Linked DNA regions of Homo sapiens: regions 1, 2, 3, 4, 5 and 7 are each linked to region 6. Evidence: promoter capture Hi-C in 16 types of primary human blood cells and fetal thymus (Javierre and others, 2016). All regions are on one chromosome and are shown on one strand. Each heading gives the region's core, a stretch centred on a gene start or on the middle of the fragment in contact. The rest is flanking DNA. Distances are from core to core; before and after follow the strand shown. Region 1 overlaps TTC39B (tetratricopeptide repeat domain 39B). Region 2 has its middle 200 kb from the start of TTC39B. Region 3 overlaps TTC39B (tetratricopeptide repeat domain 39B). Region 4 overlaps LOC124902123 (a long non-coding RNA gene). Region 5 overlaps TTC39B (tetratricopeptide repeat domain 39B). Region 6 holds the start of PSIP1 (PC4 and SRSF1 interacting protein 1). Region 7 overlaps TTC39B (tetratricopeptide repeat domain 39B).

The links. Contacts are between HindIII fragments. The CHiCAGO score rates a contact against its expected background, and 5 or more counts as called.
Region 1: a fragment that was not itself captured here is called in contact with the fragment with the promoter of PSIP1 in region 6 in 6 of 17 cell types (naive CD4 T cells, non-activated CD4 T cells, total CD8 T cells and 3 more); the score reaches 9.0 in naive CD4 T cells.
Region 2: a fragment that was not itself captured here is called in contact with the fragment with the promoter of PSIP1 in region 6 in 5 of 17 cell types (fetal thymus, naive CD4 T cells, total CD4 T cells and 2 more); the score reaches 7.5 in fetal thymus.
Region 3: a fragment that was not itself captured here is called in contact with the fragment with the promoter of PSIP1 in region 6 in 8 of 17 cell types (activated CD4 T cells, total B cells, non-activated CD4 T cells and 5 more); the score reaches 17.8 in activated CD4 T cells.
Region 4: a fragment that was not itself captured here is called in contact with the fragment with the promoter of PSIP1 in region 6 in 2 of 17 cell types (non-activated CD4 T cells and activated CD4 T cells); the score reaches 6.2 in non-activated CD4 T cells.
Region 5: a fragment that was not itself captured here is called in contact with the fragment with the promoter of PSIP1 in region 6 in 13 of 17 cell types (non-activated CD4 T cells, total CD8 T cells, activated CD4 T cells and 10 more); the score reaches 15.1 in non-activated CD4 T cells.
Region 7: a fragment that was not itself captured here is called in contact with the fragment with the promoter of PSIP1 in region 6 in 10 of 17 cell types (non-activated CD4 T cells, activated CD4 T cells, naive CD4 T cells and 7 more); the score reaches 12.7 in non-activated CD4 T cells.

The regions. Positions count from the first base shown.
Region 1 is chr9:15,168,070-15,171,759 of GRCh38, forward strand. TTC39B (tetratricopeptide repeat domain 39B) reads right to left here. Exons shown (of 20, transcript NM_152574.3): 20 at 1-3,690. Among named protein-coding and RNA genes, the nearest start is that of TTC39B, 140 kb to the right of the region's middle. The HindIII fragment of the contact is 821 bases long and covers 966-1,786 here.
Region 2 is chr9:15,109,108-15,113,055 of GRCh38, forward strand. No RefSeq gene overlaps it. Among named protein-coding and RNA genes, the nearest start is that of TTC39B, 200 kb to the right of the region's middle. The HindIII fragment of the contact is 582 bases long and covers 1,120-1,701 here.
Region 3 is chr9:15,224,244-15,228,431 of GRCh38, forward strand. It overlaps TTC39B (tetratricopeptide repeat domain 39B), which reads right to left. Exons shown (of 20, transcript NM_152574.3): 3 at 1,674-1,769. Among named protein-coding and RNA genes, the nearest start is that of TTC39B, 81 kb to the right of the region's middle. The HindIII fragment of the contact is 4,969 bases long and covers 1-4,188 here.
Region 4 is chr9:15,150,742-15,154,472 of GRCh38, forward strand. The region is part of intron 2 of LOC124902123 (a long non-coding RNA gene); the gene reads left to right. Among named protein-coding and RNA genes, the nearest start is that of TTC39B, 150 kb to the right of the region's middle. The HindIII fragment of the contact is 839 bases long and covers 1,487-2,325 here.
Region 5 is chr9:15,183,939-15,187,751 of GRCh38, forward strand. TTC39B (tetratricopeptide repeat domain 39B) reads right to left here. Exons shown (of 20, transcript NM_152574.3): 15 at 3,006-3,097; 16 at 1,342-1,468. Among named protein-coding and RNA genes, the nearest start is that of TTC39B, 120 kb to the right of the region's middle. The HindIII fragment of the contact is 1,397 bases long and covers 865-2,261 here.
Region 6 is chr9:15,509,130-15,513,072 of GRCh38, forward strand. PSIP1 (PC4 and SRSF1 interacting protein 1) reads right to left here and starts at 1,841. Exons shown (of 16, transcript NM_033222.5): 1 at 1,688-1,841; 2 at 988-1,200. The coding sequence starts at 1,059. RefSeq lists enhancers at 954-1,907, 1,908-2,860, 3,513-3,943 and silencers at 967-1,166, 1,267-1,316, 1,447-1,506, 1,517-1,726, 1,747-1,826. The HindIII fragment of the contact is 3,241 bases long and covers 1-3,082 here.
Region 7 is chr9:15,204,713-15,208,436 of GRCh38, forward strand. All of the region lies in intron 6 of TTC39B (tetratricopeptide repeat domain 39B), which reads right to left. Among named protein-coding and RNA genes, the nearest start is that of TTC39B, 100 kb to the right of the region's middle. RefSeq lists a silencer at 1,119-1,413. The HindIII fragment of the contact is 5,394 bases long and covers 1-3,724 here.

The DNA of each region.
Region 1 (3,690 bases), core at 126-2,625, 340 kb before region 6:
AAGTAAAAGCCAGAACTCCGCAAAGCAGGCTATTGGGAGGCCTTTAAGAAGTGCAGCACGTATGAGTGAATGCTTCCTCAGCATTCAGCACCATTCCCACATGTGCTGTAAGCCATTCCGGGTGCTCCGCAGCCATGTGTGGCGAGGGGCTACTGTACTGGACAGAGCAAGACTGAGGGGAAACAACACGGTTTACAGGCTCATGAGGGCAAGGTAATTTTCTAAGATCCATTCCAGGCCCAAGGAATCACAAAATCTTAGGGTATTAAAACATCACTGGAGTCTTCGTCAACTCATTTTAACTAAATGTATTTGAATTTAAGATTTCTAAATATGCAGAGTATAAATACAAAAAAAAAAAACAGAAATGGAGGGAAATGAATGAAGCATTAGATAATTCCAGAAGATTTTCCAGTTAGCCACAAAGATCTTTTTAAAAATTATTTTTAATGTCCAAGCTGGAGGAAAACCCTCCTATTTATGAAGATCAACAGACTAGACTCACTTTAAAAAGGAGTGGATCACGAGTTCAGGAGATCGAGACCATCCTGGCTAACACGGTGAAACCCCGTCTCTACTCAAAATACAAAAAATTAGCCAGGCGTGGTGGCGGGCGCCTGTAGTCCCAGCTACTCGGGAGGCTGAGGCAGGAGAATGGCGTGAACCTGGGAGGAGGAGCTTGCAGTGAGCAGAGATTACGCCACTGCACTCCAGCCTGGGTGACAGAGCGAGACTCTGTCTCAATAAAATAATATTAAATTAAAATAAAATAAAAGGAGTGGAAAGTATTAACACCGGGGATTGTTAGTGTCTATCACAACTACCTCTAATAGTAGCTTTGAAAGAGAAAACATTCACTTTTATTTGAAATGGTAGGGGGGGAGCATTTTTTCTTTACACACTCCCTGCTGATTTGAAGCCCTAATAAAAGAATCATAGAGTGACCTCAAAGTTCAACTAGTCTAAGCTTGCAGGACAGGCAGAAATGACAGTCACATTAGCCCTGCTTAAACTCACCCCTTTGCAGAAGAACTGGTTATTGATTTTAGACTGTTGGGTTTTCCGATAATGAAAAATCTTCCTCGGCACTGATTAATCTGGAATTCAGCTTCCTACAGCCTTTATCCACTTGTCTCATTTCTGCCCTCTGAGGATAAAGACAGGATCAATGGACTTAATTTTCCTATATAACTTGGAAACTTCTTGTATCAGGGAGCATAGAAAACATTAACATATATGTCCAGATAAGAGCTGATACAGTTCACCTTTCATTCCTTGTCAGGGGGAAATCATGCCTTCCTTGTCACCATTCCTACAAAGCACAAAGTTACTTAAATTTATACAGCACCAATCAGAACCCTGCCTCTCCATTAAGGAAAAAAAAAAGGCAATTATGCCAGGAACTACATGAATTGCACTGTCAGACACAATGGCAACCCAACCCCATCATAAATGCCCCTCAAAAAACTAGATAAAACTGTCACTTCAGTATTCATTCTTCACAGAACACCCTAATGACTCCAAAATGCAATATTAGCTGATGCCCAAGAAGTTGGTGCCACTACAATATCTTGAACATAGCAGGAAACATAAATATTTGTAGCATTTTGATATTACAGTACTAAAAGATCCACTGGATATACTGTCCATAGTATCAGGTAACTGCATAAAGAATAGGAAACAAAAATAAAACAAAATATAAATAACAAAAAAGATTTTTAAATGGAGATGAATTTCTTTTATATTTGTTTAGTAATGCAGAGTTAAAATAAAAATGGCCACTCTAAGCTTAAAACTGTTTCATTTTATCCCCAAAAGAGAATTTGTTACTGACTTGCAGCACTGACTTGCAGCTTCTCACAGTAACAATGTAAGAATATATGCTCAGTATACCCACAGTCACAATGTGAGTGTGCGCTTTCAAAAATAATGTTACCAAAGCTCTTCTAAGAGCTTTTTTCCAAAAAGCTTTTTTTGGAAAACTTTTTTCCAAAGCTATACACAAATAATTTTTAATGTATTTTCCACTACTAATTATAATGACAGTTAATTTTATTTTCTATTTTGTCTGTACCTAAAGTTGTATTACTAATAACACATTGATATCTACCGCCATTGATATCTATCTTTCATTGGATATACATCCTCAGTGTTGGTCAAGAATCAGTACCTTGAAGAAAACAAGCCACACACTGCTTGATACAGGTCCATGTGGCAGGGAACGGCAGGAGCAGGTTCATATAACCTGGGTAGCCTACTGTCAACATCAAACACATGAATACACAGTAAGGTATTTGAATTTCTACACTTCTTTCATTTTACAACACAAACCACAGTATCAGCCAATACTTTTGTGTTGATACTGTAATCCAGACATAAAAAACCATAATTATTATAATAATTCATACTTTTGTATAGCCTTTTACAGTTTACAAAAAGCTATCATATGTTTTATCTAATTGAGCCCTCACAAGTACCAAATACCACACCGCTATCCATAGTGGGGCAACTGAACCCCTGAAAAGCTGAGCTACGTACTCCGTGTCATGGAACTATTAACCCACAGAGATGAACTCGTGACTCCCAATATGTGGCTCCTTCTGTTAAACTGCAGAGGCTTCTATGACAAGTTATTCTTCAAAATGGAAATAGAAATAAGGCCCAGATTCATCAACTCATAAATTGTCTTTTCTCACTCTGGATGCCACAACACATACATGTGGGGAGTTGGGGGCAATGATGATGATTGAAAAATAAAACACTCCAAGTGGGAATGGTTTGCATTCGACATTTTAAAGTCATTTGTTGAAAATAAATACCTAATACATAGACTCACAGTTATAAAACTGAAAAAGACCTTGAAAGTCATCTGTTCTTTAATCTTGATTTCACAGAAGAAAATGTGGTGACACACAGGGCACAGTGGACTCCCTAAAGGTCTCCTCACTAATCGCTAATGGGTAGCAGAACCAGGACCATATGGAGTGTCAAGCTCTCTTCTGCTCTATGCCCTGATTCTGTTTCCCAACTAAAGGACTAAGCAAGGTCCAGATTATCTACAAGGAGACATCACAGTGCTAGAGAGATTAGAAAACTAGGTCTTACCAACATCTTAAGTGTAAAAATTATTGATATTTTACATATCATTTAAAGCAGCAGGAAATTTACTTCCTAGAAGAAAAATAATCCATGTATGTATTTTAGGCTCTCATTGCTAAGGTTAAGAAAAATTCCTAAAATATGACACTTCCTTCCCTTTAGATACACAGGGGTTTTGAATTTTGTTATTATAATAGACTTAAGTACATTCAAAATCAGTCTCTCCAAAACGTCACCACCTTTAATCAAATGAAGAGTAAAAAACCACTAACTGAATACTGCATCATCCTTTATAGAGAAAGGTCTCTTCAACCCATGAAGTACATTATATCGATCCGTGTTCATGTTCTCAGACTGTCTTTTTCAGAAGTCTTCTGAAGGTCACTGTTAAGCTATTTTAAATGCAATGATATTTATTTATCTTCTGAAATTTAAATACAGGCAACAAAATATCTCTGAAGTTTAACTACCCAACAAATCCAAAATTGGCTCAACTTGTAAGCTATTTGCTAAACAATATTAATTTTCACATTAAAAAAATAAATAATCTAATTAGACTATTGCATCTGCAAGTCTTTCAAAAGACTTCTT
Region 2 (3,948 bases), core at 161-2,660, 400 kb before region 6:
CCACTTCTGGGTTTATATGCAAAAGAATTGAAAGTAGGGATAGCCAGGTGCAATGGCTCACACCTATAATCCTAGCACTTGGGAAGGCTGAGGCAGGAGGATCACTTGAGCTCAGGAGCTCAAGGGCAGCCTGGGCAACATAGTGAGACCTCATCTCTACAAAATTTTTAACATTAGCCAGGTATAGTGGTGCATGCCTGTCCCAACTACTGAGGAGGCTGAGGCTGGAGGAAACTCCTTGAGCCTGAGAGGTTGAGGGTGCAGTGAGATATAATCATGCCACCGCACTCCAGCCTGGGCGACAGAGCAAGACCCCATATCAAGAAAAGAAAGGAAGGAAGGAAGGAAGGAAGGGAGGGAAGGAGGGAGGGAGGGACAAGGAAAGGGAAGGGAAGAGTCTCGATGAGATATTTGATGCCCATATCCACAGCAGTACCATTCAGAACAGCCAAGAAGTGGAAGCAACCCAAATGTCCATCAACTGATGAACGAATAAACAAAACATAGTATATACCTACAATGAAATATTATTCAGCCTTAAAAAAGGGAAGTGGTGTCACATGCTACAACATGAACGAACCTTGTGGACATTATGCTAAGTGAAATAAGCCAACAACAAAAAGACAAATAGTATATGATTTTACTTACATAAGGTACTTAGAGTAGTCAAATTTATAGAAGCAGAAAGTAGAATGGTGGTTAACAGAAGCTAAGAGGAGGAGGAAAAAGAGTTATTTAATGGGTATAGAGTTCAGATTTGTAAGATAAAAAAGTTCTGGAGATCTGTTTCACAATAATATGAATATATTTAACACTACTGAACTGAACATTGTTTAAATTGTTAAGATGGTAAAGTATATGTTATGTATTTTTTTTACCACAATAGAAAAAAATTCTGTGGAGACCTTCAAGAACCTAATGAAAGTTATGCCCCTAACCTTGCCAGAAAAATACATAGACATTGTATATAATTTCAGGGAGTCAAAGGACATCCACTGGGAGAGATGCATAGGTAAGAACTGCTAGGCTAGGCTAAGCTTTATACTTGAAAGATAAGAAAAATAAGGAACAGAGAAGGCAAATTATTTTCTCCAAGATCTCATTGCTCAACAGTAACAAAGCTTGCTTTAGACCCCGGGTATTCTGATTCATGATCTGGTGCCTTTTCTACCGCTGCATGTTGCTTCTTATATTGGGGGCTATATAACCACTAAAAATTGGGCAAAAAGTCGAACTGAAATTCATTTGCAACAAAGGCCTCAGCTGACCCTATGAGGAGCTCTGGAGCTGAGAAGGCCAATCATAGTTGTCTGAAGTTGGAGAGGGGCTAGAAAGTGGGATCAGGAGTCTGGTCCTTCTTTCTTACCCATTAGCCAGTCAATAAATGCAGCTGCTCAGAAGGCATGTGACCTTGGGCCAGGAAGATCTCTTCAGGACCTCAGTTGAGACCCATCAGTCATCAATACTCCCAGCAGGACAGTGGGATGTATACCTGGATCCTGGGGAAGGGGGAATTTGGGCAAGGCAGGATTACTTCCAATACAGTGGGTATGGGAACACTTGCAACAAGCCTTCTCTTCCTTTTCAAATAACCTCAACATTTTAAAGTCATATTTTCCTCTTGTTTCTTCATGCTTCTTGAAGAACTAAGGACAACCCATAGATTATCAAGAGCAGAAAGAATGCAGCTATGATGACTCAAGCTTATCTGCGAGGCATCTGAGGACTCCTCTAAACACTGTAATGACAATTGACCTTGACAAAATTGGGGAGTCTGTTTCCGAAAATAGTCTCTGGGGGATCCCAAGAGTAATGGGATGAAATTGATCGAGCAATGCACTGCTTCGCTTTATAGGCTTTCCATTTGTCACACAAATTATAATGAATACTTATTGCTTGATTTACATTTCGGCCTTCACACTCTTTGCAGCTCCTGCCATGTTTACATGCACCATCTGGAAGAACTAATGAGTCAAGAAGCACCAGAAATTATAATTTGCTCTGACTAAACCTAGAAGATTTTTACTGGCAATAAAATGATTTTGCTTTTTATTTCCCCTGGAATTGCAAGGAGATTAAAACATGAGTTTCACTGAGTTTAGGGCAGAAATATGCAAAGCAAATTTTAATAGAATGAACCTGCAGGCATCTGGCATTCCTTATCAATTCAGAATAATTTAGTCATTATAGCAACAGTCTCATGATAGAAAGTCTCCTCTGACACTGGAATTCTTAAAAATGATTACCTAGCCTGTACTCAAATGTCACAGTGGGTCTCAGTGGGCATAAGAGGGAACACACAGGAATGCTAAGTAGCTTAGAGTTTAAGAACTTGGTCTATGTCTCCCATGGCCTTACAGCTCACATCTGGCATTTATGATTGATATGACACTGGACAGGTCACCTAACCTCTTTATATATGAGGTACTTTGTATACAAAACAGAGATAATAATAGGAACCATATAATGGGGTTATTGTGAGAATTAAATGAGATAATAGAAGGAAATTACACTAAACTTTAGGCATGATACTAAAGCACTCAATAAACAGTCACAGTTATTTCCCAAAAAATAAATTACTCTTTCAAAGGAAATTTAGTCTCTCTTGGGTCAGAATTGCCCTGCATAGAGAGTAACTAAGGATAATATGGATGAGTTAATTAAATACATCCATAGTTTAGTCGAAGTGTTCATTTTTATTCCACGACAGAGTGTGAAGGAGTTAGCCCTGGCCTAGCAAGGCTAGGTCCAATGGACTCTAGGAAATGTAAATGAAGATGCAGATGGGGTCAACTACTTGGAAAACATTTCACATTCTAATTCTTCCTAAAAATTAAATTTAGAAAAGGAAATAAATGACTGTTCTAGTCATTTCTGTTGCCATAGCAAACATCTCTCCCACTGGCAAAGTGAAGGAAAGAGGTAAATATTACGACTACCCAGTAAATCCAAAAGGACATAATTATAATCCTTGAAAGGCTCTACTAAAAATAATGTGTTCAATTTAGCATGCTGGAATTAATGTAATTTGTACAGGTTTTATAAAATAGTATTTGTTATTTCTGTTTATAAAACAGAAAATTTTGTATTGTAGAAGATTAATAAACTACATTAAACTTCTGAAGAAGATAACAAAAATCACCCAAATTCTACAACTCAGAGATTAAACACATAATATTAATGGGTTTCCTTCTAGTTTATTCCTATGCACAAATATGTTGGGTTTTCTTTTTTCAGAATTATGATCGTACTATCTGTTCAATGTTTGACCCTACTAAGATTTACTGTTTAAAAGTAAACACTTTCTACTGTCATAGTTTTTGAAAATGTGATTTTTAGCAATGTGTAATATCCTCTTATATAGATTTCTTGTAGGAATCATTAGTGATTTTTAACTTTTTACTTTAAAAAATAAAGCTGCAGTAAACATCTTTGCTCATTAATCTTGCTCCAAATCTTTGCTTTTTTAAGATAGATTCCTAGAAGTGGAATTATTACAAAGACTATATTTTAAGCCAATTAATGCCAACCAATTGCTTTCCAAAAAGACATAAGATGATACCCACTTACATTTTTATCAGCAATGCATGAATACTCATCTTACCAAACCTTCGCCAGCACCAAATTTCTTAACTCCTAAAATGGAAAAGTGTACTTCACACAAAATAATTGATATCTTGACAATAAGGTTATTTTGTCTACTTCTTGGTTAAAATTTGAATATTAATTTATGATAATTCAGTCAAAGTTAGTTATTATATAATCTCTATTACGGTCAGTCTTGTGGTTGAATTGGTTGTGTATTCCTTTATCTGTTGCCACCATCACTGGTTTACGAGCCTCTGGAAAGCAGCAAGGGATATTATGTACCTCCCACACCACCTAGAACAGTATCTTGTACACAGTTCATGTTCAACAATTATTTGTGGAGTGGAATTGATTATGCTA
Region 3 (4,188 bases), core at 592-3,091, 280 kb before region 6:
TGACCTAACTATGAAATGCAAAGGATACTTTTCCACCTGTATCCATGAAGACCTCTTTGCCACACCTGGCTCTGCTGACTGCATTCCAGAACTCACCCTTCCCCCAAGTCCCTTGCCTGTCCTGTGGCCACCAACTTGTAGTCTTCCTCTCTCACACATCTATGTAGCTCTTGTTTGAACGGTCACTGTCTCAGCCATGCTTCAATGTTCTGTGTTCCCAAAAGGTTCCTTCCTCCATTCTCTTCTCTTTTGTTATGGCTCTCTGGGAAATACAGGTGTGGTTCATCACTTCAACAACTACGTGCATGCTAAAGACTTCCAGTCTACAGATGCAGCTTGTTGCTGCCTGTGCGTGTCATGCCCTTATTTATTAATGCTTTCAGTAATTTTTATTTATTTTATTAGAGCTTTCAAACTCAGCATTATAAATGTTGATACAGTAGTTACTTAGGAAACTATCGAATGAGTTAGAGGATAACTATGAAGGAAGAGCACTTCTTTTTGAAGAAAACACAAAATTCCATGAGCAGGAATTTTACACACACAGTAAAAAAAAGGATATGGAAAACAAATGCCTTAAGATCCTTAGAAGTTATTTTCACTTTATCTCCATTCTGTAACCTTTTCTATATATTGCGAGGGTAGAATCCTAAGACAAACTACCAAACCCATGAGTATAAAGAACACACGCATAGCTGAAATTTCAAATGCAAAATCCAAAATGCTAAGTAAAGGATCTGCTGTATAATTCTAAAAGTTTAATAAACCTCTAAGGATGGATGAAAAGTACTTTCTCATGTACTAGAACAGCTTTAACAGAGCTGCCTTAATAACTCATAAAAAAAACCTTCATGTTCAAAGAGAGAATCTGTTAATTCTAAAATGATCTGGAAAGGAACAAAAATTAACCAAGTATGATACCACAGAAAAATATCTAATGGAAGGGGAAAATATCACGATATATTAAATTTTAAGAAGTAGATTACTGAACAGTATATTTAATATGATTCCAATTAAGAAAAAAATTTAATATCTCTATATTTGAGGAGAAAAAGAATACACACAAAAATAATCAGGATTATAGTAATACATATTTCATTCTCTTTGTGCTTTCTATAGCTCTGAATTTTCTACAATGAACACTTCTTAAAATATATTTTTAAACCAAGATTATGCAAAAAATGTAAGAAAGAAATAATCATAATATAATATTTGACGAAAAAATCTATTATGGTTACAACTGTATCAAGAAGCACATGCCTAGGAAAAAGACTGGAAGGAAATACACCAAAATTCTGTGTTCAAGTGATCATCATTATGGTTGTTTCTCCTTTCCTCCATTTTCCCCAATGTTTGGCAGTGTGATTTATTATTTTATAATAAAAATAATAGCTAAAAATATTTAAAGATAAAAGCGACTTGAAAGGGAGTTGTGCCCCAAAGTTGAATTTTGTTTTGCTTTCATGTAACAGTGCCACCTATTCACTGAGTCCCTGAGCAGCCACCGTATCTCCTTCCCTGATTTATAAAATGGGCACTCTACTTGCCTAGGCCTCTCCTGACCTCATTGGTTTGTCAAACGCAATGCACTATGCAAATATCAGTATTATATTCCTTCAAGGGTGGGACTGTCCTCCCCTCTTCCCCCAGGAATGCCCACAACCCTTCCTGACCTGCTGACAGTAGACGCTCCGCGCTGTCTGGGCGCCTGTTGTGTATCACATGATGCAAAGTGAAGGCTGCTTGTTGCCATATCTGAGTGAGAAGATCTGTTAATTAAAAAGGCAGAGCAAGGTTTTTTATTTCTTTGTCCTGTGAGAAAAGTCTACACCAGTGCAATTACACAACATAAGTCTTCCAATTATTTTTATACATCTTACCTCCATTTCTTATCAATTTTAAAAATCAAGTAACAAAAATCTACTGTTATGTGTCAAACATTCCTGAAATACAGCCCTAATAACTTTATTTTTTCATTCTAGTACACAAAAAATAAGTTAACTGAAATTACTCCACAGGTCTCCACCCAAAGATAGGATTGTATCTTGTATATATCCGTCCAGGTTTTTTCCCAAGTAAATCTATACATATTTTAATAAAACTTTATTAAAGATACTTATTATAATGGGTTATGGTATACAGTATAATGGATTACATATAGGAATTATTCTGAATCTTTTCTTCTCAATAAATCCAGAGTTGCTTTATCATAGCATCTGCAACATGCTGCTGACTGGAAATAATGATAATTTGTTACCTGTCCCTCATTTTCAGGCATGTAGGTTACTCCCAAAGTTTTGGCATTACAAACTACTGTTAATAAGCCCCTTTACTCACTTGCCTAATTATTTCCAAAAAATACATTCCCGAAGGCAATGGTACTTATTTTGTAAAGTACTTTATTTTTAATAAACTGTCTAATTTCCCACTAAATACACACCACAGAAAGCTGAAGTAACATAAAGAAGGTAAGGACCAATTTGCCTTGCAGAATCTTCGGCCAGTTTGTTGACCCACAGATATCTGACAGGCACACAATGGGGGCAGGTCCACTCAGAGAAGGAAATTTCCAGAAAGAGTTTAAGAGTAAGTCCTGCCCTGTATTACAATAGAATTGCCAATCTCCTTCCATTTCCACTCACCTTAACAGTACACATTTCACAGAGAAGAGCTAGAGTCATTAAAAAAAGAGGTAAAGTCATTAAAAAAAGAGGAGAAGTTTTGCGTGTTTTTTTGTGGTTGTTTTTTGTTTTTGTTTTTGTTTTTTAATTCTAAGATGTACAATGGGTGCAGTGGCTCACGCCTGTAATCTCAGCACTTTGGGAGGCCGAGGCAGGTGGATCACCCGAGGTCAGGAGTTCGAGACCAGCCTGGCCAACATGGTGAAACTCCGTCTCTACTAAAAATACAAAAATTAGCCAGGTATCGTGGCGCATGCCTGTAATCCCAGCTACCCGGGAGGCTGAGTCAGGGAGAATCGCTTGAACCCAGGAGGCGGAGGTTGCGGTGAGCCAAGATCGCACCATTGCACTCCAGCCTGGGCGACAAGAGCAAAACTCCATCTCAAAAAAAAAAAAAAAGTGCAGTGTCCTCAATTAAGTGGAGTTTTGTTTTTTGTTTTTTTCCCCCATTGGAAGTTCAGACTTCCCAATGCACTCTAATATTTTACACTAGACATTCATTTTTATCTTGGATATATCAAGTTCCCTAAATTTTTCACATCACATAGGGGAAAACTGAAGTTGTTCTTACAAGGGTGGTTAGGTGTGGGTGGTGGGAGGGAAGAAAACTCCACAGGTAAGGGAAAATGTCATTAGAAGACAAGTTATTTCCATCACAAAAACTTCTTATTCTGAGAATACAGGTACCACTTCCATAAATAAGACTCTGGGCAGTGACCATCAGCTCCGTTTACAAGCAGGGAAAGAGGAAGTGACCGACTGAAAAGGCTATCTACCCATTTGGACCATTCTTGCCCATCTGTTCATTTACAGACTCATTTTCGAGGGCTAGAAACACACAGTCTCTGAAATGTACTGTTAAAATATCCCCTTTTCACATTTGCCTTTAGCTTTAATAAAAGTCTCCCCAATATTGAAATTTTTACTTAGTCGTAACTATCACCCTTTTCTTTAACATTCCTGATTTTGAGGGCATACTTAGAAAAACCTTCCCTCTACAAAGATTATATAACATAGTTTTACCTGTGTTTTACTTTTTAATATGTTATATTTAATCGTTTATAATTTAAATAAATGGTACAAGATAGTGCTGTGTAATTTTTTCCCTAATCTTTTGCCATGTTTCCCAAGATTGTTTTTAAAAAAACACATCTTTTCCCCCAATGATTTGACATGCCATATATAACACACTAGATATAAACATAAATTTGGTGTGCCAGGTAAATATTATATGTTTCAAAGTGCTAAAATAATTGGGACTGGGCACGCTGGCTCATGCCTGTAATCCCAGCACTTTGGGAGGCTGAGGCAGGCAGATCACTTGAGGTCAGGAGTTTGAGACCAGCCTGGCCAGCATGGTGAAACCCCGTCTCTACTGAAAATACAAAAATTAGCCAGGCGTGGTGGTGGGTGCCTGTAATCCGAGCTACTCAGGAGGCTGAGACAGGAGAATTGCTTGAACCCGGGAGGCGGAGGTTGCAGTGAGCCAAGATTGCACCACTGCATT
Region 4 (3,731 bases), core at 656-3,155, 360 kb before region 6:
ACTTGAGACAGCTAGAAGAAGTCAGTCCATAAATACCTGTGAGTGGCTCATCAGGATCACTAACCCCACAAGCCACACACTTATTGTGCTAGAGGCTGGTCCTGAACTCACCAGCACCACCAAAGGGAACTGGAGGTCCCAGAGAAAGGCAACCCTAATTCCCCATCTACCTTCACATGCCTACAAAAAAGCCCACATGATGACTGTAGCCATGAACACTTCTGGAGAGAAAGTAGCAGGCAAATACCCTCCTCCCACCAGCCTGCCCACCCTTCTCCCTCAAAGCTGCTACCAGAAAAAGTGTTGTGGGACGGGCATTTCCAATACCAAGGAAGGTGCCAGGAGTCACCAAACCACCCACAAATCTTAAGGGGATTGCCGTGGCCTCTTAGTCACCCAGCCGGAAGCTGCTATCTTCCTGGCAGGAATTGCCTCCCCCTCTACCCCTGCTATTGTGCCAGATGTTCAGGTTGCCTGAATACGTCTGCCCTGGTGGATTACTTCAGGCACCCCTGCCCAAGAACATTCATGGATGCCACACCTGGAACCTACTTGACCAACACTTCTAATGATTTTGTAAGCACCTAATTTCCTGTATTAAATTCTTTTCTTCTTAAAGTACCTAGAGTGATTTCTGTTGAACACTGACTAATATTCAAATAGCAGCACCAACACTCTGCCATGAGAGATGCAGCATGAGTTTGTGTCCTCAGCAATCTCTATCATCTTCCACTCCGTCTATTCACCTTGCTCTGTGAAACCATTCTGCCCAGCCACTGTCCTGGTGAGGCAACTGCCTCCACTTGCAACCTTCCCCTCTCTATGCTAAGGCCGAGTCCTGTGTTAAACCCATAAGAATCTTTTAGATTTCTTTTCTGTCTATTCTCTGTGGCCCTCCCAGAAGGCAACACAACCTGAGGTCCCCAGCAGAGGCAAGTCCACGAAAGGACTTCTGACACCAGCAATCCACGGGTTCATTCAACACATACTGAAGGTCTATGTTTTGCCAAGGCTGTTTGCAAGAGACCACAAAATTTCTGAAAGTCCCTGCATCAGCAAATGATTGATATAAAGGTAATCCTGCAGGGTACCAAAAGGTAGCCAAATTGTCCTTTCCAATCAACTTTCCATTGACATTTGAAAAAGGAAAAGAGGGTTGGGCACAGTGGCTCACGCCTGTAATCCCAGCACTTTGGGAGGCCATGGTGAGCAGATCATGAAGTTAGGAGTTCGAGACCAGCCTGGCCAACATGGCAAAACTCCGTCTTTACTAGGGATACAAAAATTAGCTCGGCATGGTGGCGGGCACCTGTAATCCCAGCTACTCGGGAGGTTGAGGCAGGAGAATCACTTGAACCCAGGAGGCGGAGGTTGCTCCAGCCTGGGCAACAAGAGCAAGACTCCATCTCAAAAAAAAAAAAGGAAAAGAGGACGTCAGTGTTTTGCCCCTGCTGCAGCATGCCAAGTTGTCTGGAGTACAGCAGAAAGCTTGGCAAAGTGGATTGAAGCACTTGCCTGAGCCTGCTGCTCCTGCAGCTCCAAAACCAAATGGGAGATTTTCAGTGGGGCAGACCCCTCTCATGGACGAACTTCACACAGGTGGAAGACAAGGTGGGAAAGTGGGAAAGCGGGAAAGCTCATTCAATCTTGAAACAATCAGAATATTTCTGCACAAGGCAAAGAGACTTGTCCTTTGTGTGCTGTGTGTGCATACAAGAACACACACACATATATACACTGCCTTGGTAGTCTTGGGGGAAAGCAATCTCTCGTGGTGCCTTGGAACTTCAAGCAAATGCTACCTGGTGCTGTGGATTTTGCCCTTTGGCCAACAGACTGTCTTCTGAATTGGTTCAAGTCTACGTAGGGTTTAGTATACAAAAAAAAAACAAAGATATTTTATTGGTTAAAGTGCAGTGAGTGGAATTTCATTTAATTATTAGTGAAACTGGTTTTTTTAGTACTTTTTTTGTATTGGTCTGCTCCAATAAAGCCTAGCCACTCTACATAAGTGCTCTGACTACCCCCAGTCAGCCTCACTCAGAAGGAGCCTTTCTCTGGCCTTCCCCTGGGGCATCTGGAAACAACAGACTCTGGTCCACGCTATTATATGATCTGCCCAAAGTCCCACCAGCAGCATTGTTATCCCTCCTGAGCAGATGGGGCTGACAGTGCCCACCTCTGAGGTTTGCAGCGTGACAGCCACCCTCCCCAGACAGATCTCCACAATGCAGTTCTTGGCCTTGAAGCATGAGTGCCGGGACCTTAATTCCCTCCTTTTTCCCTTTCCCCACTCAGTCAAAGGGTGGAGGTAAATGGCTATAAAGCTTGTTTTCTTGCACTTATATCTAATAAGCTGGGTTCTCTGAATTAGGCCTACTTAGAAAAGAAGTTTTAGAACTTAGACACCTATGCCCACTGGAAATGCACAGAAAATGTTGCATGAGGGCCTTTCCCCAAACTAAAGAATGGAATGTCCTATTGGCAGACTTTCTACTCTTTTCTTAATATTTCATTTTTGGTATCTGTGTTTCTTCCATTAATTGCCATTTTCATCCTTTTAATTTTGTATAATTGCCTACCATTTAAAACCCTTCCTATTTCAGTAGGTGCCCGGTCATTGATACTCAACATTATTTGAACAATTTGGTATAACAAAACAAATAAAATATACCATAGAGAAGAAAAAAGTGTACATTTGCTTGGAATAACAACAAAAATGACATCCATTGCAATCATCAATCGTCCACATTACACACGAACTGAGGTCTGAACCCAGAGACTTCAGAATGGGATGAAAGGCCTAGGAGGTTCCCAGCTTTCCTTCTATCTATCATTCTCAGCCAGTGAAGACTGAAAGCACGACATACCTTCCTGAGTTTGCCAAGGAAAAGTCCAACAGAATCTCCTTTGGTCATTTGAAATCCTGTTTTAAGGCTAAACAAACGTCCAAGCCACAAACCAGGATAAAGAAGCACAACCTCAATGACTGTCCCAGGTGACAGCTTGGAAGCCCAACCTGAGTTTAATCTCCAGCTCAAATGTGAATTACCTGTGTTGTTTTATTGCAACACATCCAACAAAGATAGGGAACAACGCAGCCTTAGCCTCATCTCCAGGTCCTTCCCAAAAAGGGGCTACTGTCAGAAGAGCTGAAAGTGGCTGGAAAGCTAGAGACTGTTAGCAGCATCCATAAGAGAGTCAACAAAAGGCTGTAACAAGAGGCCAGTTGGTGGCTGGCTGGCTGCTAGAGGCCACGTGGAGGAAGAAATTTGCTGGCCTTGGAATAGGAGTCTTTTCCTTTGGACTAAGCTTTAAAGAGTCTTCCTTTGGAGAGCAGAAGATTGCTCAAATAAAGAAAGAAACCAGCTTTATTAAAAAAAAAAAAAAACAGGTGAGAAAGGAACAAGATGAAATCAAATCTATTATGCTTCCTAAGATTTTGGAAGACTTCCAGGGACCAATGTTAGGGAAAATGAAAATTGAGCATCAAATGTTAATGGAAAAATCACTATCGGGGATGTGGAAAAATAAAGTTAATCTGGAAGGAAAAATGGAACAAATGTTGAATGTGTGGGCTTCCCAGTGGCTTGTATAAGAGCCACGAAAATGGATTTTAAGTATAGAAGATTCTGTTGACCTGGTATTGACTTGTTGCTCCATGACCAAATGGGGGACACAGGGTTTTAGCATCAGTTATTGAGATTTTGTGCTCCCTCAGTCCCCTCATT
Region 5 (3,813 bases), core at 313-2,812, 330 kb before region 6:
CACCTGGACCTAGGTGCTAGGCGCAGGCTAACTCCTGTCTGACCCCTGTCAGGGAGGGGCTGCATTGTTCTTTCTCATAGAATGTATAAAAGGCTCCCATAAGTCACTAAGAAAACAATCAACAACCCAATGAAAAATTAGGAAAGAATATGAACAACAATTTACAAAAGAAAAAATAAAAATGAAGAAACACATGAAAAGATGCTCCACCACATCCACAAGGAAATGCAAATTAAAATGGTAAAATACTATCAGTACTTATTTAAATTGGTAGAGCTTTTTTTGAGGGGAATTTAACAATATCTACCAAAATATTAAATGTATATATTCCCTTGAACCAGGAATTCCATTTTTAAAAAACCTTTCACAGAGAATTATATGCACATGTACAAAAAGAGGATATTCATTGCAGTGTATAATTGTAAAAACTGGAAAAATCTAAATAACTGTCAAAGAGGAATGATGAAATAAACTCTGAATTTAAAAAAAAAAAAAAAACTCAGGAAACCCCAGAGTGGAGGACTGCAGACATCGGTTACACTGAACAGCTTTCCTGTGCTGACTATCTATATAAAAACTAAAGCACCAGAAGAGTCATAGTAACTTGATATATTCAGTATTTTTTGAAGAACACTTCATTAAGAAAATTCAAGTTGAAATTGTGTTTTTCACAGAAGCCTTGCCTAAATGGCATAAAGTTTAAGAATGTGAGCTGGAGCTAGAATACAACAGCCAGCAGCCAGTTATGGCTCTTGAGCACTGGAAATACAGCTAGACCAAACTAAGATGTCCTCTAAGTGTAAAAGACACACTAAATTTCTAAGACTTGGTTCAATATGAAAGAATGTATATATCTCATGGATAAGCTTCTATTAATTACATGTTGAAATGACAAAATTTTGCATATACTGGGTTAAAATATATTCTTGAAATTCATTTCTATTTCCTCTTACTTTTTTAATGTGGCTATTAGAAAAGGTAAAATTACATAATGTGGCTTGCATTAGAATTCAACTCAACTTCAATGGAATCAACTTCTTTCTGTCTAAATTTCTTCACTAAAAAATGGGGCTAAGAGTTAACTATACTCAAAAAGTTATAAGAATAAAATGATACGTTTTTAGTAGCCTTTATCGTAATGCCTGGATCATACTAACTAGTCAAAAACCATTAGCTACAGTTTTTATTTATTAATTATTTATTTAGAAATGTTCAACTTACAACAAAACCTACAATGGTTTTTAAATGAGCTAAACTTCATAACCAAATTTAGATATGCTCCCTGCTGCTGTGAGTAGGTAATTTATTTCTAGTACATGAAAAGAAAATAAAAGCAGATACCAGGGCAGGTAAGATGAGCTTCACAGGTGCAGGTAAGGAGGCGGAGTAACGCCGAGCCTTCCTCACAGCAAACTTCTCAGTAGGGATAGATTTCCCGGCAATTCTCTGCTTCAAGCTGTCCACCTGTCTGTGAAGAACCCCAGCCCAGCCCCAGAGAAAGGTCATGGCAACACATACATTATTTGTACCTGTGGTTTTCACAGTGAACTTCACAGACCACCAGCAGCAGCAGCAGCATCACCTGGGAACCTATTTGAAATGCCAATTTTCAGGCCCTACTCTAGACCTACTGAATCAGCAACTCCAGGGCCGGGGCCGAGCAATCTAGATTTTGATAAGCCCTCCAGGTGATTCTGAGGCACACTCAAGATTGAGAACCACTGACTGACACATATTTCTTTCCAGTCAACTTAGCTAATGTCTTAAATCTATCAAACACAGTCCAGGAAATCTAGGTATACAACTGGCGATTTCTACGAGTAAGCAGGAAAGAGTCCAAAGTATTTACTTACGTTGTGGATACTCAGGGAGAGAGAAGAGGGTACACTGGTATATGGCCTATTCCTATTTGCAAGTATTACACAGATCTATAAAATAATATGGCTCAAAAGACAGCCAACAATTAACGTATAATTTAAGAAAATGTTTCCCAAGCACAGGTTGTTTGGGAAATAATCAGCTTAGGATGTGTACCATGTTTAGAAACTTCCTTTTAAAATTCTACAGAATTCCAATTATGAAATTCATAAGCAGGTAAAAATGACAGTAGGATGGGGAGACTACATGTTCCTGGGAGCACTTTCTTATGCATAATTTTATGGATGCATCAAACAAGTTGCTGAGAAAGAATTCAAGGCAATACTCAATTACATCACTGAAAGAAAAAATAACATGAAATAATATGCCTCCAATATGAGTCAAGCTTATGTTAGGTTAATTCCGGGCAAAATATGGAGCTATGGATTTTAAACTACAGTGTCTCATCATTTTTGTTCATTACCGTCAGTGGAAAAGGCAGTGGAAATGTGAGGTGGGGGTCAGAGGAAGGGGTCAGAAGCATGTCTCAGACAGGAACCCTTGTAGTTTAAAGGTAACAGCATCTTTATGAAGAGACCATTCATTGTTAGAACTCTCATTATCCCAACAACCTAGAAGCTATGACAGAGCAAGACCTCAAAGCTTTCTCCTGAAAATAAAAATGATCACATCTTTCACATAAACTGTTTTGATATGGAGAAAACTTAATCTGCAGTGGAAGAAAGAGAAGGAGATTTAAAAGATTTTAATGTATCTTAATACTCCCTTCCATTAATTGTTGTTTCCGTAAAATAAGGAAATGAACTTTACAGTAAAAAGTGACATTTATCATGCCATGGCTTTTACTAATGTTGATGTTGATGCTACAGTTAATATACATGGTTTTTTTTTGGAGACAGAGTCTCACTCTGTCTGTCACCCAGGCTGCAGTGCAATGGCATTATTTCAGCTCACTTGCAACCTCCACCTCCCAGGCTTAAGCAATCCTCCCACCTAAGCTTCCCAAGTAGCTGGGACTACAAGCACATGCCACCAGGCCCAGCTAATTTTTTGTATTTTCAGTAGAGATGAGATTTTGCCCCTTTATACCCTCAGAGCCTTTGTTATAGGAATAGTGTCTCACATACCTGAATAAAGTTACCACATTCTCATTCGTTGCTACTACATCCTCCTCTGGAAGCATACTCAAAATTGCTGCTTTCAAGAACACATAAGTTGCCTTGAGAAAAAGAAGGAGCTTATTACAGAACATCCCTAGGTAAATGACATTTCTACCTTTCAAATCAGGAATGACCAACAAGTCTTCCAGATATAAAATTAGAGGCATTAAAGAAATCAGAGGAAATGAAATCTTATATTCCCTGTTCAAAATGACAACAACTCTTTTCAATTACCCATAATTTAAACCATTTTCCTATTATACAACTACAGCATTCATAGGTGAGAAAGTGGACAGAATGAACAAGAAAAAATTATCTCATTGCCCTCCAACTTCTCATAAGTGGATCAGAATTAATTTTCATTATCATGAAAAGCCTGGGCATCAGGGCACTGGAAAGTCTACACAAAATTATCAACATGATTAAGATTTCATAACTTTATAAGTACAACTCATTTTCAGAGATAAAACCTCATGTTTAAAATAACTCTTTGTTGTTGTTTGAGACAGGGTCTCACTCTGTCACCAGGCTGGAGTGCAGTGGTGTGATCATAGCTCACTGTAGCCTCGAACTCTTGGACTCAAGCTATCCTCCTGCCTCAGCCTCCCACGTAGAAGGGACTATAGACATGTACCACCATGCCTAGCTAATGTTTTTATTTTTTGCAGAGATAAAATCACACCATGTTGCCCTGGCTAGTATCAAACTCCTGACCTCAAGCCATCTTCCTGCCTTAGCCTCCCAAAGGGCTGGGATTACAGGCATGGGCCATCGC
Region 6 (3,943 bases), core at 591-3,090:
CTAAAACTACAGAATTTAATTATTTTTAAGAAATACATTTTCAAAGGACAGTAAATTAGTCGAAAATAAATGGCTTGGAAAAATAAAACTTCAGAACCCCATGTAAGTATATTTTTAAAGGATCTTGAGTTTACCTAATCTAATTGATTGCAACATATCTTAGGTCCTATCTATCTCTGTTTGAGAGCCTGGGTACCACCATAAACAAAAAGAACCCTTTTTCTAAAAATGGAGCGTAGATCTTTAAACAGTCTCAATTCCTCAATGTCACAAAACATCCTGGGTCCTTAATCATTTCTCTGTACCACTAGATGTGAACTGAGGAATCTGGTCCACACCTCCTTTTTGCCTATTGGAAACAAAAAGGTAAAACAACTTCTTCAAGGTCATAAACATCTCAAATAAAAAAGGAGAAATGAATTTTCTGGCCCTTCCTCGGTACTAAACTACTGTAATACTTTCAAGAATATCCAGTCCTGAATCTGTATTAAACAAGCAAATCCAGAAGGCCTCATCAAGTACAAGGTATTTTTTTTAAAACCCTGTAAATCCAATTTAATCACATACGCACTTCTCTGACATCCAAGTGTTTGTGTGTAATCTGCACAAATTCCATTGATATTTTGTACTTGATCCAAAACTATGGAAATGTCAATGTTTCACTAATTTTTAAACAAAAATTCACTCTTCATTATTTCACCTACAATGGAATATTAACTAGCAACGCATTTAAATATTTCCTAGGAAGAAAATCTGTCCAAGTCTGCCAATAAACCATAGGGAAATACACAGGTATGTAGAAACGTCTGGATTTTCATAATTACACGGGAGATTATTGGGCAAAAAACTAAAATGAAAGGTCAGGTTACAAATGAGACTAAAGCGAGGGAGAGAAAGGACAGAAGAAAAAATAAAGAGACACGGTGGGCAGCAGGCCTCTGGAGAGGAGGGTAGCACTGCTAAGCGCGAGGGCTACAAATCACTTACTCGAGCTGGCCAATGGGGATAACCTTTCATCTTGGCGAAGATGAGGTCTCCAGGTTTGAAATCGCGAGTCATGTTTCGGGGGCGAGACCGGGGGTCCGAAGCCCGGGAGGCGGCGAGGAGATGCGGCGGCGCGGGGATGCGGGCGGCGGACGCGGGCCCAGCTACCGGGCCCGCGGGCGGGGGAGGATGCCTCGGGGCGTCCCGACGCGCCTGCTAGGGAGAGCACCGAGGGCGGTTAAAGCGAAGAACCCCGAAGGGAGGGGCCGCAAGGGGAGGGGGAGGGGAACCGGCGGGTGGGGGTGGGAGAGCGAGGGGACGGCCGCCTCCCGCTCCTCCCCCGCCAGTGCGCTGCCTCCGCGCTGGAGCAGGTCCTCCACCCCGCCACCGAAGAGACGCCACCACCTGAAGCAGGGATGCTGCCCGGCCAGAAATCGCCCGTCTGCCCGCCCCATCTTTCTCCGGGCTTTTTCCACCGAGCTTAAGCCCCAAAAGGGAGGGGGTGCATGGGAGAGAAAAAGGCAGGGATTCCGAGAAGCGAGCGGCCCCCTTCCGCCCACGCAAGGCCTCCCCCGCAACCTGCTGCCCAGCGGCTGCAGCCTCGGCCCCCTCGGCTCCCGGGCGGGCCGCGTCCACTTCCCCGCTACAGCCAGGAGCGACGCCACCGAGGGGGGGGCGGGGCGAGTCCCCGTCGCCCGCTCACCTGCCGGGGCCGCGGGCGCCGACGCTGCGGTTGCTGGCCGGTCGCCTCTACCCGCGTCCACGCAAGCCACCTGCGCCACCAGCTGCCGCAGAGGCGTCTCAACGGCTCGGAATCGCAACCGCGCCGCCGCTGCCGCCGCCGTAGCTGCGCTGCTCCCGCGCGGCTCCCGCTCGGCGCCCGCTAGCACTGGGGCGCGACCAACTGTTTACCGAGAGAGGGGGGATGTTGCAGCACCCGGCGAAGCTGTGTGGCTCCGAAGCGGATTTTCTGGAAACCCTACGTCCCCAAGTTCGCTTTCATGTAACAGGTGCATGCAGATGGAGAGGAAGACGCAAGCGAAGAAGAAAGGACTGGGCGAAAATAGCTCGGCCTGCCGCAAGTTCCCCCTGCGGTTTGCGGAGTGGTCGGGCCCGGCCCGCCCCTGCTGGCTTCTCTGCGTGTGTGTATTTGTATGTGTACTGTATGTAAAAGGCGGGGAGGGAGGAAATGATTGTTGTGGACGCGGTTTTGGGGGCGGGTATCCGGGCCTCTCTCCCTTGGCTGCGTGTTAGGGAGAAAGTGGCAGTAAAGATTCATGTTCTTGTATCGTTTCCAGGGTGGGGAGGTTTGAATGCTGCTTTTGCGCGGTTTGCATCATCCAAAAAAGAGGAGCTGTACGAAAACCCTAAGATGAAATTGGAGCATGCGGCGGTTGCAGGGTGTGCTGCATCTAGGCCTCTTGCACCTCGCTGAATGGGCCTCGTAGTCTCCTTTTCCTTGAAATTGTAGTATGAGAGAGCCCTATTTCATTTCTTTTGCATTTGCATCACCAAGAACTATTAAGAAAAATGCAACCCTACTGAATGCAAAATGCGAAGGGTAGAAAACAATGACAGGAAAACAGAAACCTTTTAGATAGGATGTGAGTTTGGGCCCTAACTAAATTTTAGCTGCATCTAAATTTTATTTCCCTAGTAGAATAGGAGCTGGTAGGTGGTACAATGTGTAAGTGTTACTAAACCTCAAATATTTTCTCTCTTAAAATGCTCTTCAAGGGATTTTAAAGGTTAATTTTTTGATCCTTTAGAGAGGCTGAAAATATTTTTAAAAAGAATGTTAAGACATATAAAAATAAGAATAATAAGACATATATTAGCACCTAGATAATACTGTTTTAAATACGGGACTCAACTGGAAATGAATTAGGAAATTTTTTTTGAATTGGTAAAAATTGAGAATTTTTTGAAAGCGATACAGCATGTCTTTAAAAAGGAATGAAAGAAGACAGTCCCAAAGTAAAATGTCCTGTAAGGAGTTTCGAGAAACTAAGTATACCTGGGCAATATGCAGAGAGTTCCAAGTGGAGCAAAAAGAGAAATTGGCAGAGGAGAAGGAAGGGTTGGTGAAATGTCTTGAAGCTTCTCATTCTGAATATGAATTTAATGTGTGTAGTAGGAAGCTACTATAGGTTGCTCAGCAAGAAGGGGGTAAAAATGATTATTTAACCAGTTCTTGATGTTTCAAGGTAGATGTTAGTAGAAAGAGGCTGGGGGTAACTGGAGTACTCATGAAATGACGCATTTCTCAGTGAGAATGGTGACTAAGAAAAGGGAAGGAAGAGCACAACTAAGTAATTACACAAAGGAATGATTGTCAGGTGTTGGCTATAAATTATGCATAGGAAAAGGTGGAAAAAGATGTATTGAAGAAAAGCTCAAGATACAGAGTAAGAGAGACCAAAGCAGCATCCAGCAATCATTTTTTTGTGTGTATGCACTTTATTTGTTCTAAACCCTGTAAGGCCTTGCTACTTCAAGTGTGGTCCAAGGCCCAGCAGCAAGGGCTTTACCTGGGAGCTCAGGTAAAGCTCAGACCTTCCCCAGGCCTTCTAAATCATAATCTGCGTTTTAACAGGATCCCTAGGTGATTCTTACGCATATTCAAGTTTGAGAAACTGCTTTAGAGGATACCTCAGACTGTAAAAACTTCAAACTAAGAAAAACAGATATATAACAAGTTATAATTAACGTTAAAGATAACTTTTTATTAGTACTAATGGTAGGATTAACAGGTAAAGAGGGGGTAGTTAGTGTTAGAGGGGACCTCAGAAAAGAAATAAAAAAGGGAAAATGGAAAAGCATTGATGTTTTACTATTAGTATTTTCTGTTGTTTTTGTTGTTTTAAAAAAAGGAAGTACCATACTTAGCTCCTGCTGCCTTTAAGTTTTGTCCGCTTCAACCTGTGGTAGTTTGTGAACAACAGGAGATACCCTTTAA
Region 7 (3,724 bases), core at 471-2,970, 300 kb before region 6:
GGCCACGTTAAGACTCCTCACACATGAAGACCTGATATAGAAAGAGGTAGCACTACCCCAGTTTCAGGCTAATTTGATCATGTAGATGTCTAGCACAAGAACAAGGTACTCACAAAAAGGGGTTAGGTGGGGCTCTGTGCATCCCAGGGACCTGCGGAGTACCCCAAAACACACACCCTAGCTTCCCAACCAACCATTATACTTGCAGAGGATGGAGAGACAAACCTTTACTTTTTTCCATACACAAGTCAGCAGATTCTTGCTCTATCCATGGGATGCAAAGTGGCATGATATTTAAGTAAACGAGCCTGGGGTATTTAGGAGCCTGAGCTGCTAAAAAGGCTCTGCCATGTACGAGCTATGGGACCTCGTCCCCTCTCTGCTGGTTTCCTCATTTATAAAGGCCACTAACGCCGCCTCTAGTTCACAGCTGAAGGATCAAATGAAGTGCTGCACATAGAGCTCATGATACAGAGTAAGCACTGGATCAGTGCTAACTACGTGCACTGAGATTACTGCCCATGATCCGTGTCACTGCTTTTTGGTAAAAGCTCAGAAAGAAGAAAGCATTTTTATGTGGACTGTGACTGAAAATAGGGTATTTCTTATTATTGGGATTAGTGCTAAATAGACTTAGATGACAACAAGTACTTTCTTGCACTTATACACATAGATGCCACCCCCACCCTACACACACATACAACCCACTGGTTCTCATAAATTGGTTCAAGTTCCTGCCATGCTCATATTCCAATGTTTAATTTACAAAGAAGCACCTCTGCAGCTAAGGTCTTCAACAGTACACAGAAAGATGGGGCCAAAGCCATTAACAGACCAAACTTGAGGAGTTAGAGCCTGCACATCCACAGTCAGGGTCTCAGTCCTTCAGAACACCTCTCCTCAAAGTGTGCCTAGTGATTTTCTAGCTGTGTTCAGCGGGATACCAACTGGTAACTTATTTTTACCCAGTCACCTGAATATCCTCTTCCTAGGTAATTCTGTAACAGAGTGAGAACCAGGAATTATGAGCTATGAAAGTCTGCTCAGGAATACAGATTGCTGGCTTGGGGTACATGCAGAGGGGATGAAGTCCGTGGTGGTGATGGCAGCGGTGGGGGAGCCGGGGCGGAGGGGACTGTGCTGGTAACAGGAGCAAGGAAAGCCAAGAGCACCTTCAGGAAAAGCCAGTCAAGGGAGGAGACATCAATGAGGCTGGAAGGGCTCAGTCAAGGCTCAATTATAAGTGGCCTTGAATGTTAGAGTCTGCACTTGATTCAGGAAGCAACAGTGAGTCAGTCCCTGCAGAGATCTGAGCAGACGGGTGGGCAGATCAGGGTTAAGTGAAAGATGAACAAAGTTAAGAGCAGCATGGGGATGTGACAACAAGGCAGACAGAAAAGGCATGAGAGTTTGAACTTTGTATTCTGCAAATAAGTATCTGTCATATTAAATCCCTTTCACATCCCAGGCACTCATTGCATTTAAATATCTGTTTGTAAAGGCAATTTGAAACCCATTTGGGGCAATCCGCCAGCCACAAGAGAAAAGAACTAGTATGTTCCACATTAAAACCATGAAAAGTTTAATGAAATATACTCACTCCTGTAGACAACCAGACACTCAAGGATGTAAATGAAAATTACCAAGAGGAAAAACAAATCACACACTAAAGCTACAATGTTTTGACATGCTCCCTTGAACACAAAGTCTGTTTGGGTTGCAGTTGACAGCCAAACTCACTAAGAATAAAATACAGCTTAATTTATAAAAGTCTTATTCTTTCACTGTGGTTGATTTACATTGCATAGTTCTTTAGTTCTCAAAATTAGCCATTAGGCACTTATGAGTAGGTAACTACCAGAATATCTCTTAATTATAAATTCCTTAGTCCACAGGAGTAAATATCTTCATGATGCACTGAAATAATGTTAGCTAAGCTAAATAAACTTAGCTAAATAAGCTAAGTTTATTTAGATATGAAAGTCTAAATAAACCTGTATTTCATAATAGGCTATAGTCACAAGTTTATTAGTTTATTTTTTTTATTTATGTAGAGACAGGTTCTTGCTCTGTCACCCAGGGTGGAGTACAGGGGCATGATCTGCACTCACTGCAACCTCTGTGATATGGTTAGGCTTTGTGTCCTCACCCAAATCTCATCTTGAATTGTAATCCCCATAATCCCCTTGTATCAAGGGTGGGAACTGGTGGGAGATGTTTGGATCATGGGGGTGGTTTCTCCCATGCTGTTCTCATGACAGTGAGTGAGTTCTCACGAGATCTGATGGTTTTATAAGTGTTTGACAAGTTCCTCCTACACGCACTTCTCCTTCCTGCCACCTTGTGAAGAAGGTACCTTGCTTCCTCTTTGCCTCCTGCCATGACTTTAAGTTTCCTGAGGTCTCCCCAGCTATGCAGAACTATGAGTCAATTAAACCTCTTTCCTTTATAAATTACCCAGTCCTGGGCAGTTCTTTAGAGTAGTGTGAAAATGGACTAATACATTCCACCTCCTGGGCTCAAGGGATCCTCCCACCTTAGCCTCCCAAGTAGCTGGGATTACAGGCACAAGCCACCAGGCCCAGCCTACTTTTTATAATTAGTAAAAAGTAATTTTCTACCTTATTCCAGATTTCCTAAAGTGCCATTGTTCAAAGACATTATAAAAATATAACAACACAGTATCATCTATTTTCAAGATGACTAACACAGAAATAATTCATTATTTCCTTCATCCGTATATGACACATTTCATGCCCTTCTCTACTTGCCTATAGGAGAAAGTGTGGGTTACAGTGAAAGAGTTGTGGCTTAGGGAAAGGCAGATGATCAGTTAACCCTACTCTGCTAGGTGGGGAATCCTGGCCATTTGTTTATAACTCTGATCAGTTCCAAGTCTACAAAGAGGAGGTTAGATTGGTTAATGTTAAGAAAAGCAACAAGGACAGTATATAGCACATACAGGATGCTTTTTAAAAATGGAGGATTATCAGCTGGGCACGGTGGCTCACACCTGTAATCCCAGTACTTCGGGAGGCTGAGGCGGGCGGATCACAAGGTCAGGAGATTGAGACATCCTGGCTAACGTGGTGAAACCCCGTCTCTACTAAAAATACAAAAAATTAGCCAGGCGTGGTGGCGGGCACCTGTAATCCCAGCTACTCGGGAGGCTGAGGCAGAAGAATGGTGTGAACCTGGGAGGCGGAGCTTGCAGTGAGCTGAGATCATGCCACTGCACTCCAGCCTGGGCAACAGAGTGAGACTTGGTCTCAAAAAAAAAAAAAAAAAAAAAGGAGCATTATCATCTTATTTTTCAAATTATTATTATTATTTTTGAGACAGAGTATTACTCTGTCACCCAGGCAGAAGTGCAGTGGCGCGATCTCGGCTCACTGCAACCTCCACCTCCTGGGTTCAAGCTCCCGCCTCAGCCTCCTGAGAAGCTGGGACTATAGGTGTGCGCCACCATGCCTGGCTAATTTTTATATTTTTAGTAGAGACGGGGTTTCACCATGTTGGCCAGGCTCGTCTGTAACTCCTGACCTTGTGATCCACCCGCCTCGGCCTCCCAAAGTGCTGGGATTACAGGTGTGAGCCACCACACCCGGCCAAATTATTATTATTATTTATACTCATACAAAAAATACCATGTCATTCATGCCAAAATGCAGCTAAAAAAAATCTCAAATATCAGCCTTCATACTAAAAGGAAAAAGGGAGGCAG